2 separate regions of the Homo sapiens genome follow, and region 2 is linked to region 1. The links are contacts of gene promoters, found by promoter capture Hi-C in human tissues and cell types (Jung and others, 2019). All regions are on one chromosome and are shown on one strand. The core of a region is centred on a gene start or on the middle of the fragment in contact, and the rest is flanking DNA. Distances in the headings are between cores, read along the strand shown.

Region 1 (5,791 bases), core at 1,974-4,473:
GCCAGCCACACACAAGAAGAAAATTTATGGCCCTTGTCTTCAAGGCCTTTGCAACAGGACATTAGAAAAGGCTTACACCTTGTGGCAGGTTTTTAATGGCTAATTATAGAATACCACAGCTGAAAGGGAGTCCCCAGAAATAATAGTATTCCCTAGAAAGAATTTGAGATTCATGATGGCTATGTTAAAAACAGAATCACAGACCTGAATTTCTCCTGTGCCAGTTACAAGTGAGGAGGGGAAAGGTATTTGTTTTGGAAACTGGAAATAATTTAAGAGAAACCAATATGCCAAGGGAGCTTACAGCTACAAGGAAATGTGCAACTTAACCTGTTTCCTGTAACCAGAAAGTGGTGCAGGAAAACCTGGAAGTGACGCAGTGTCCCCCAGGAGTTGTATCTGACACTTCTAGCTGGCAGACAGGTCTAAAGCCAACAGGAACATTTCTTGGGCTTTTCATGATGTTGGTGAACAACATTAAAGATAGGAGACAGTTTCTTCATGAGAACAGATTTAAGTTATAAGGAGAGTCCACCTCCATAAGCTCTGCTTCTTTCTGGATGGATCAACCAGGTAAAGATTTTTTGTCAGCCACATGAGGCCCCCATCTATTTAGCTCCTCTGATTTTACATGACCATTTCAGATAACAGACCCCGTTAAGAATGTATCAAGTACTACTGTAACTCTTGGCCAAATTGCTATTTGGCACCAAATCAATCTTTAGTTGGTGGTGAGACTCCAGACACATAAACAGATAATCTTCTACGGAATACTTTCACTGTGGAAAGAGAATCAGGAAAGGCTAAAGGGATGTTTAAAAATCAGACATCAGGCTGGGCATGGTGGCTCACGCCTGTAATCCCAGCACTTTGGGAGGCTGAAGTGGGTGGATCACCTGAGGTCAGGAGTTCAAGACCAGGCTGGACAACATGGCGAAACCCTGTCTCTACCAAAAATACAAAAATTAGCGGAACACGGTGGTGGGTGCCTGTAATCCTAGCTACTCGGAAGGCTGAGGTAGGAGAATTGCTTGAACCCGGGAGGAAGAGGTTGCAGTGAGCTGAGACTGTGCCATTGCACTCCAGCCTGGCCAAGAAGAGTGAAACTCCCTCTCAAAAAAAAAAAAAAAAAAAAAAAAAAGGAAAAAAATCAGCCATCGGATAAGGTGTCAGGCACCGTGGCTCATGCCAGTAATCGCTTGAGCCCAGGAGTTCAAGACAAGCCTGGGCAATATAGAGAGACGTCATCTCTACAACAAAATAGAAAATTAGCTGGGCCTGGTGATGTGCACCTGTGATCCCAGCTACTTGGGAGGCTGAGGTGAGAGGGACTCGACCCCAGGAGGTTGAGGCCACAGTGAGTTGAGATCATGCCACTGTACTCCAGCCTGGGTGATGGAGTGAGACCCTGTCTCAAAAAAAGGGATCGGATAAGGACCAAAAAACAGAGAGATCCTGAAGGGTCAAGTACTATACAGATATTTCATATTGGTGAGTGTATTCAAGTATCCATTTATTTTTCTCCTAACGACTGCTAACAGCTAACAGCTACTGATCATTTTCTTTGTGCCAGGAACTATATTAGGCACTATACATCAATATCTTATTTAATCCTAATAACTCACCACACAGGTACTACTATTATTCCCATTTTTAAGGATGAGGAAACCAAGGCACGGAGAAGTTAAATAACTTAATGACACGCCTGTAATCCCAGCACTCTGGGAGGCAGAGGCAGGAGGATTGCTTGAGCCCAGGAGTTCAAGACCAGCCTGGACAACATGGCAAGACCCCCATCACCATTAAAAAAAAAATTAATCAGAGTTAGTAACATGGCAGAGCTAAAGCCTGTTTGACTTAGAGAGCCTGAGCTTAGCTGCCTTCCTAACCTGTAAGAATAACTCGCTCAAGAAGTTAAATAAATGTTTCTGTTGTGTCACCTTTAGACTACCACGCTGATTTTGTTTCCTTTTGGCTTCCTTCCATCATTGAGTGCCTTTTATGTTCCAAGCATTGTGCTAGGGGCTGGGGAAACCACAATACAGTGTGATGAGTAAAAACAGAGGCTGCAGAAGGTAGCCCAAAAAAGGGAGGAGTTATCAGTCGCAGGGTGGGGAAGTGCTTTAAAAAGCTTTGCGCAAAAGAGGTTAAACTGAATTCCTTGGGTTTTTTGTTGTTGTTGTTTTCTAAGTGGGCCAGAATTGACTCAACAGAGGGTGGGAAAGGGGAATGGAGGGAACAAAGTAAAAAGTGGTGACTTCTAGATCTTTCAACTAAACCCAAGGCAAACTGACCCAACAACCTTTGTTACACACTTTAACACAACACTCTTCATACCCTAGATCTGAGAACTGTTAGATTATTTACAAACGCTACCTCCCTTCGTGGTCCTGATGAATTCCCAGTGAGGTCCAATCTGCCCTGGCAGGCTTCCGCTCATTTTTGTTACAAACAATACACTAAACCCAACCTACTAATCATCAAGGGCCTGGAACAGGTTTTGGACATTCGTCCCCAGGCTGCTGAGAACTGTTCTAGTGATGACAGTTAGAAAGGGTAGCCCTCCGAGGCAAAAAAAATGAGACATCTTGATTTTTTCTCTCCGCATCTGGGCGCGGCGATAAGAAGACATCACTGGTCTCCATCTTTCCAGGGGGAAAGGCCCGAGCTGCATTAGCCCCGACTGGGGAGCTGGGTAAACAGCCCACGCCCGGGAGAGGCCTGAGGGAAAGTGACCTCCCCCGGGGCCCAGGCCGACCAGCGGCGCAGCTGCTCGGCCGCCAGATGCGCGGACTCGCGCACTCCCTCGCCGCGCCCGGGCATTCCCAAGCCCAGCCGCCCGCCTCGGCCCCGACCCCTCGGCCGCCACAGCACACGCCGTTCCGCTCGCAAGATGGAGGCGAAGGCACGAGGCGCCCCCGCCCCCCAGGGAGCCTTTGTGCCCTTGCCGGCGGGGACGCGAGGCCAGACGGCCCGCACCGCAAGGGCCCCGCAGGCACCGAAGAGACGCGGGGGAGGGGGCCGGGCGCGCGCGCGGATCTAGCCCGGGCCACCGCCCCCAGCGCCGCGGCACCCCCGACACCAGCACCCGCACGCGGGACACTGCCTACCTACCGCACCGCGAACGCTTCGCACGTCCGGAGCGGTCTCAGCAGCCCCATGCGCTGGCCCCGAGCTGGCGGACCCTGACTGCAACTGCGGCCCTCCAACCGCAGCCCAAAACGCGCAGGGCAGGACCGAGCGCCAACCACGCCCTTCGGCCGCGCTGACCACGCCCTTCTTCCCGCCCCTTCTCCCTCCGCGGGAGGGCTTTCGGCAATTTCGCGCAGCGAATCGCAGCTCTAAGTCCGCGGCTCCACCAATACGTGGACGCTCCTGCAAGATGAGCCCGCCCCCTACTTCGTCCTGGCCTATGGGAAGCCGGGACTTCTTCAGCGGCTGTCCTCCCTCGCTTTTGGAGCTCCGACCTCAGCTTCGCCTGCGAGCTGGGTTGTGTAAAGGCTGGTCATTTTGGGGCGCTTAGGGGTGGGTGCCGGGGGGCGCGCTTTCCCTCGTGAAGGTCGCTCCAGGAGTCATGCGTACATTCGTTCATTTTGCTCTGGACGCACTGATGTTCCCGGCTCGCCGCCGTGCCGCAGTCACGAGGCTCTCCGAACGCCTTTCACTGTGTTTCTGTTTACATTCGCGTCTGCAAGACCCGGCGGCGCGACCGAGGCCCGAACAGGTGCTGCGAGGCGGGGCGGGGAGCCAGTGCTGAGGGGAGCTCCCCAGGCCGGGTGGTTGAAGACAGCTTCTGGGGGGAGGTGGAGCTCTGGCTCGTGGAGAATGGGAAGGGTGTGGAAAATGAACTGGTAGCTACTTAGCCACTCTGAGCAGCCTGCTCTGATGGGAAATCGGTGATGGAGTCGGAGGGAAGTGGGAGGCAGCTTGTGGGAGGCCAGGGTGCTCACTCTCTCCCCTGCCAGCATGGGACCTAGTAACTTTCATACATCTCTATCTATCTATCTATTTTGCAAAGATGGGGTCTTGCTGTGTTGCCCAGGCTGGGCTTGAACTCCTGGACTCAGACGATCCTCCCGCCTCGGCCTCCCAAAGTGCTGGAATTACAGGTGTGAGCCACTGCATCCCATCCCCTAGGAGCTTAATGACACTGCCCTTTAGCTTTTACTGCTTAGCAGAATCCGGAGGCATAGAGGAACTACCACCAGGGTGGCGTGGGGAAGAGGCCCTCCCTTCTGATGATTTTCTCTCAGCAGCACTTTCAGCAATCTGGCTTCAACTGAATATCTCCCCAGTTCATAAAACAGGCGTCTGTAAATGTCAACCCCAGCTGGGTGCAGGGTACAAATTTTTTCCTACAGAGCTCTTGAGTCCCAGGTAGTTTAGGAGACAAGGACTTGTTTGGTTTTCCCAGACCTGTCAGGACAGCTCAGAGGTTTTGTCTAACCCAGGGGCCACAAACTTTGGACAACAGCAGCAGCTAGCCCACAGATGGTTTTATTTGGGCATCGCATAGCTTTTCTTTGTTTGTTTGCTTTTGTTTTTTAATAAGAATTTGAATCCCACCACCACCACTGGTCCATTAAGTAACAGCCAGCCTTCACACATTTGCTGCCTACCTGAAGGCATTTGTGTTTGTGACCCTTGATCTTTTCTATACACAGAAGACCTCCAGTGGAGTCACCTAATCCCACAGCCAAGTCACCCCTGCTGGACAGAGAACTGTACAAAGTCCAAACAGGCGTACATATCCTGTATGGTTTCCTCATCTATAAAGAGAGGGGATAGGATGAAGGAGTCCCAAGGTTCCTTTTGGTTCTGATGTTCTGTAATTTTGTGTTGTGAGCAGCTTTTGTTTTTGCCTGACGGGAAAACTTTCCTTTGGGAATTGTCTGCAGTCCGCTGGGTCAGATGGTTCTTTAGCACCGCACTTCTCCGGTCTCCCAAGGCAGGATGGGTGTGGAGAAGGGGAGGTGTGGAACCCAGGCCTGACCAGCTGTAGTCTCCCTCCTCTTGTTTTCAGATTTCCCCAGGGATGCGCACATGACCAAACCTGAGATGATCTGAGCCCTTGTCGGGGATTTTAGAGAATGAGGCTGGGAGAAAGAGGCTCTTTCTTTTGGTGTTTCTGAGCGCGGGAAAAGTAGGCCTAGAGCTGTCTGTAGTTATACTCCTTGCAGCAGCAATGCTGGAGAACCAGGCCTGGAAATGTTAGGAACCAGCTAAGCCATCCTGCTTTGGTACTCTGATTAGGGTGCGTACCAGCTCCTTTGGTGGTGACATGAATTATTTTTCAACTCTTCTCACTTAAGATTCAAGTTTTGGGAAGGACCATTTACTTGGCCTAGTCTAGGTTATGTGCCTGTGTTCTGATTGCCAATAGGCAAAGAGAGTTCTGGTTTCTACTGTGGCTTCTAGTCTGGGAGGCCTAGCCTCATACCAAGACTCAGTGTGTGGGGGCCTCCCCTCAAATAAGAAGAATGAGACGCTGGGTTGCCAAAAGTTGCTTCACTATAGTCCGTCTCTTAGGCTGCCCAACATTCACAGAAGTGCTTTCAAAGGTAAATGAAAATGCTGCCATCCAACAAAATGCGAGCATCTCTCCTATAACAAAATTTACTTATCCCTTCCCCAAAGCAGGGCATCTCAAAATCTCCTCATTTACTGTATTTGGCCCAAGTCTAACTTCTGTAGGTGATGTTCCATTCTTCCTTTCAGTTTCATCATCATCCCATCCCATCGTTGTAATGTGTAGACTAAATTGTAAAGTTAAGCATCACTGATAGACTTT
Region 2 (5,791 bases), core at 1,285-3,784, 940 kb after region 1:
TCAACTACACGGCCTTTACTAACACAAGTCTTAGTATAAATAACCTTTTATTATCAGTATCAGTATAATGTTAGTAAGCAAACATTAAGTACCTTACTGTGTGCCAAGAAGTATGCCAAAAAAAGGGGAAATTTCCATCCTAAGAACAATGTATGTTGTCTTCAAGATTAGAGCAGTGGTTCTCACAAGGTAGGGGAGTGAGTAGTGGGGAGATAGGAAGTTGAGGCATTTTTAAAGTCACAACTAGAATGTTCTACTGGCATCTAGGTAGAACAGAAAGGCCAGAGATACTGCTGAACCCCCTACAATGCACAGGCCAGTGCCCCACAATGTCAAAATGTCAGTAATGCCCAAGTTGAGAAGCCCCAGTTAAAGGAACAAATACTGTCCCTAGGAAAGATGTTAACTCCTTTTCCATCAGGATGAAATAAGTTATCCCTGTAGGTGATATACTATCAGCATGCTATTTGGCTTCTCTAAGAGAGGAGGGTGGGAATTTACACAGGTGGTGTCCTGTATCTTGGGAAGGGGAACATAGACTTCACTTCCTCCACTGCTGTGTTGAGAAGCTAAAAGACACTAGCAGAAAGTAGTAACCTCCAACTACTACTGCACACCATTATTTCTCCTTTTATGTAAAAATGCTATGTGTTACTCCTGCTGGTTGCAAAAGAATGAAGAAGGTGATTAAATTTTCACTCTTATCAAGAAACTGCTATGAATTAAACTCCAGTCATCAGCTGAATTGGTTTCATAAAATGGTTCCACCGCAAACATACTAAAGCAGTTCTTTCTGTTTGAGTCATCCTTTTGAAATCAGCCACAAGGAAACTCTAGTATAGATGGAAATCTGTTTTATCTGAGATAATATATGCAGTCCACATTGTTTTTCATCATAAAAAAATGTTATAACATTTTCATGTTTTAAAACATTTTCCTTTTTTTCTCAGTACCCCATTATGCCTACCCACTTGCCCACTAAAATAGAAGTGCTCAGAAGATATGTAAACAATCTGCATAAGATTTGTTTTGTCCCTTGCTTAGTATTTGTTTTGCTTTTTTTTTTAGGGCAGGAATTTTGTACTTGTGTTTAGTAGGTAGTAAGCAAAAGGCTGTGTGTGATGTAAATAATGAAAGAAAACATTTGTTAGGTTGAGAGACAAAGATTGATTTCTCAGTTTTTCTTCTTTAGGTGAAACTGACAGATATTATACAAAGTCTTTCCTTTGGGAAGACTTGATATGAAAATAATTGTATTTCACTGGCCCTTAAAAAGGAAATGATTAGAATGTTTAACAGTCAAATTAATAATACTATTCCTAATAAATACATATTTTATGAGTAACTTTTCATGTTCTCCCAGCCCACAAAGAAAATAACACTATTCCAGAATATGTTTATTTTAAAATTTTTTTTTAACTCTGGAAGTTTAGTTCCTGCTAATGAGAGCAACATGCTTTCGAGTATCAAGCAAAGTTTCAAAGTAATAGATAAAATAGAAGACAGTTTTATTAGGAAGATTTTCTTTAGCATTTCTTCTAGTCTTGAGTAGAATTAATGGTGCTATTTCATGTTCTTGGTGCTAGATAACATTGGGATAGGGCTGAATACATGAGGTCAAACTAACTTAATTGAAGACCAACAAATGAAGCCAGTAATCGAGACATTCGGATGTTTTTTATGTACATACTCATTTAAAGTTCTCAAGTACATGACTTCAGGAATTTTTTTTTTTTTTTCTTTTTTTTTGAGACAGAGTTTCTCTCCGTCACCCAGGCTGGAGGATCACAGCTCACTGTAGCCTCAAACTCCTGGGCACAAGTGATCCTCCCACCTCAGCTTTCTGAGTAGCTGGGGCTATAGGTGCATGCCATGACATTTGGCTAATGTTTTCTGTTTTTACTTTTTTTTTTTTAAATCTTTTGTAGAGACGGGAGTCTTACTATGTTGCGCAGGCTGGTCTCAAACTCCTGGCCTCAAGTGATCCTCTCACCTTGGCCTCCCAAAGTGCTGGGATTACGGGCATGAGCCACCATGCCCAGCCTAGGAATTCATTTTGAAGAATTCTTTTACTCAGATTTTAAAATATAGAGAGAATATATAAAGACAGTGAGTAGGAAAGCATTGTCTAGGTACTGGTCTTTGTTAAAGAGTATAAACCTTTGGGAAGATCATGAATCTTTCTTCAGAGAACACATAAAAAAAAAAGTTCCAGGAAGAATAGCTGTCACAGCATTTTATTTGCAGTTTAATAAGGCCAGTTGTATATTGATTGATTATATGCCATTTTTAAATTTTGAAAACTATCTTGGGTCATTTATGTATATAAATAACTGGTACTACAAAAGTGTTTTATTTTGGGTTTAGATTATCAAATACAGAAGTAGAAGCCAAGATTGAATGTGTTCCTGTGATTGAAACTTTGATGTCACTGATAAAATATCCCCAGATAAGGCCTTCTAAGAGATCTAAGCAGAGTAAGAATATGTCTGATTGGAAATATATTGTTTTTCTTGGCTAATTTGACCAAGGGCTCTAGAAATTATATGGAGGGTATATGCCAGCCGTACTCTTGTTTTTTAGTTTCTTGTCTAAGCAAAAAAATTGTTCTTTTGCTATAGACGCAATAGAACTAAATCTATAGTGTTATGCACGTTACTTGTAAATTCTTATGTCAGGACCAAATGGTCGCTTATATTTTTTCCAGCTCCCAAATTCCCTTTATTCCACTTTAGTCCCTTCATTTTCAGAGATGAGGAAACAGATTGCTTTGTTCAAAGACAGCTAGAACTAGAACACAGGCTAATACTTGCTAGCCATGTGATATACTAATGTCAGCCAAATACGGGCATTTACACTTTCAGATGTTTGCCATATCTGTGCACTTACTAATTCTATTTAATACAATTTAAATTGACTCCTTTAAATAAGCTTATTTTAAAGGAAATTTTTTGCTACTATAAATAGAAAACCATTATATCCTTTAAATAGTAACTCTAAATAGGAATTCAAAACAAAGCAACGTTATTAAAATTTAATTTAAAATTAATTTAAATTTAATTGTTATTAAATTTTTAATTATTGCTGTTCTTCGTCAGAAATGTGTCAAAGCATTGTTTTCATGTTTGATGTCAGTTCCTTAATTGTCTAAACAGAAAAAGCACAGCTAATGCCTCTAGTTAAGCTTCTGTATAACTTTTTTAAATGAAATGCTTCTTAGAGGGGAAATGAGAGGGCATGAATACATGTTTATATACTAAAGTATGATTTCATGTATATCAGAAGATCTTATTATATGGAACCAAAATTATTCTTTGGTTGATTTAATTGTTCTTGAAACTTCAGTTTTTACCTTGAAGGTTTTAGTTAGCTTAGCATAAGTTTATTTTTCTAAATAAGGAATCTGATTGCCTCACAACTCAGATGTATCACAGTTATGGTGAAATAGCAATATATTGGTTTCTGTAACCTTTTAAATACCGTAATGAATTAAAATCTCTTCAGCAAAAGCAAATATATCTAGGGTGACGAGAGGTGTTTTTAGTGTATTTGAATGATGGAAATGTTTTTCTTAAAATATTTCTGAAGCATTTTTTAAAATAATTTTTTGAATTTATTGATGATAGTAGTTGTGTGTTAGTGTGAATGACTGGTCTAAATGTGTATGTCACTTCCAAGGGATTAGTAGGGGTCAGAATGATTTGTTTTATTCATTGACTTTTCCTTTGACGTGTTCTTATTCATTGGGCTACATACATTCCCTGTTGCCTTCTCACCAAAAGTGCCACTACACAGGCTGTATTTCATTGTACTGTAGAAAAAGACAAGTAGACCTTTTTCATTCATGAGATTCCTATGAAATCTGTTGGTGGAGGTATAAAATGAGGAGACTTTTATGGGCTAGCTAGTAGGAGTTTTGCTGTGAAACCTTTGTAACAGGTCTATCAGGAACTAGGGAGAGAAATAAATGCAGGAAATACTTGATCCCATTAAACTGAGGATGAAAAAGACATGATAATATTTTGGGGATTATTTATTGTGTGATTTTCCGGCTGATCAGAAGTGTTAATTTTTTGTTATACTTGTGTCAAATACATATATATATATATATTTTGAAATGGAGTCTTGCTCTGTCACCCAGGCTGGAGTGCAGTGGTGCGATCTGGGTTCACTGCAACCTCTGCCTCCAGGTTCAAGTGATCCTCCTGCCTCAGCCTCCCGAGTAGCTAGGACTACAGGCACGTGCCACCACGCCCTGCTAATTTTTGTATTCTTAGTGGAGATGGGGTTTCACCATGTTGGCCAGGCTGGTCTTGAACTCCTGACCTCAAGTGATCTTCCCACCTTGGCCTTTCTGAACTATTTCCTTTACACACATTTAGAACTACATCTAACTGTATTATAGTTTTCACTTTCACCATCAGACAAAATTCAGAAGATTCAAGAGAAGGAAAGTCGATTGTATTTACTCATATTTTTGCTACCGTGTTTTTACATCTCATATTTTAAGGTTCTTTTATTTATTTATTTTCTGTTTAGTTAATTTCCTCTAGCCATTCTTTATTTATAGTGGGTCTGCTGGTAACAAATTCTCTCAATTTTTCCTCGTCTGAGAATGTCTTGACTTCCCTTCCATTTTTGTCAGCACCTGAAAAATACTATGCCACTATCTTCTGGGTTCTGTGGTTTCTGATGAGAACTCCACTGTCAGTCTAATTGTCGTTATAAATGCAGTGTTCTCTCTCTCTCTCTGCTTCCAGGATATTTTTTCTTTTTTTTTTTTTTTTTTTTTCTTGAGACGGAGTCTCACTCTGTCGCCCAGGCTGGAGTGCAGTGGCGCAATTTTGGCTCACTGCAAGCTCTGCCTCCCGGGTTCAAGCGATTACTCCCACTTTAGCCTCCCAAGTAGCTAGGACTACAAGGCACACCACCATGCCTGGCTAATTTTTGTATTTTTAGTAGAGACGGGGTTTCACCATGTTGCCCAGGCTGGTCTCGAACTCCTGACATCAAGTGATCTTCCCGCCTCCGCTTCCCAAAGTGCTGGAATTACAGGCGTGAGCCACTGCTCCCAGCCTCTTTATTTTTTCAGCTTTACTCTTTCTTCTGTCTTTTTGACATGTGTGTCCAGTGACACACGTGTTAGATTTTGCTATAGTCTCACGCACGGGTCTATAAGGCTCTGTTTTTTGTTTCATTTTGTTTTTCCTATTTTCTCTCTATTCAGATCGAGTAATTTCCACTGTTCAGTTTTATCATAGCTGCTTTTAAATCTTTGTCAGGTAATTCTGTCATCTAAGTTTTGGCACCTATTGATTATCTTTTGCATTGTTTTTGTTTTTGTTTCTGTTTTTGTTTTGAGATGGAGTCTTGCTCTGTTGCCCAGGTTGGAGTGCAGTGGCACTGATCTCGGCTCACTGCAACCTCCTCCTCCCGGGTTCAAGTGGTTCTCCTGCCTCAACCTCCTTAGTAGCTGGGATTACAGGCATGTGCCACCACGCCCGGCTAATTTTGTATTTTTAGTAGAGACCAGGTTTATCCATGTTGGTCAGGCTGGTCTCAAACTCCCAACCTCAAGTGATCCGCCTGCCTCGACCTCCCAAAGTGCTGGGATTACAGGCGTGAACCACTGCACCCAGCCTATCTTTTGCATTGTTTTAAATCTTGTTCTTGCTAGGATGAATGATTTTCTGTTAAAACTAGATATTTTCATATTATGTTCCTAGGCTCTGGATATTATCTAAACCTTCTGTTTCCACTGGCTTTTATTGACACTGCTTTGGCAAGGTCA

Evidence for each region. The method cuts DNA at HindIII sites, captures the fragments that hold promoters and counts their contacts. A contact is called where the count stands out against the background at its distance.
Region 2: a contact is called between a fragment that was not itself captured here and the fragment with the promoter of CEP68 in region 1, in 1 of the 25 tissues and cell types used here (hippocampus).

Annotation. Positions count from the first base shown.
Region 1 is chr2:65,053,848-65,059,638 of GRCh38, reverse strand. It overlaps CEP68 (centrosomal protein 68), which reads right to left and starts at 3,223. Exons shown (of 7, transcript NM_015147.3): 1 at 3,111-3,223. RefSeq lists silencers at 1,991-2,070, 2,081-2,130, 2,761-3,100, 3,181-3,290 and an enhancer at 3,391-3,630. The HindIII fragment of the contact is 11,141 bases long and covers 1-5,791 here.
Region 2 is chr2:64,109,249-64,115,039 of GRCh38, reverse strand. The region is part of intron 1 of PELI1 (pellino E3 ubiquitin protein ligase 1); the gene reads left to right. Among named protein-coding and RNA genes, the nearest start is that of PELI1, 32 kb to the left of the region's middle. RefSeq lists an enhancer at 837-916. The HindIII fragment of the contact is 4,307 bases long and covers 381-4,687 here.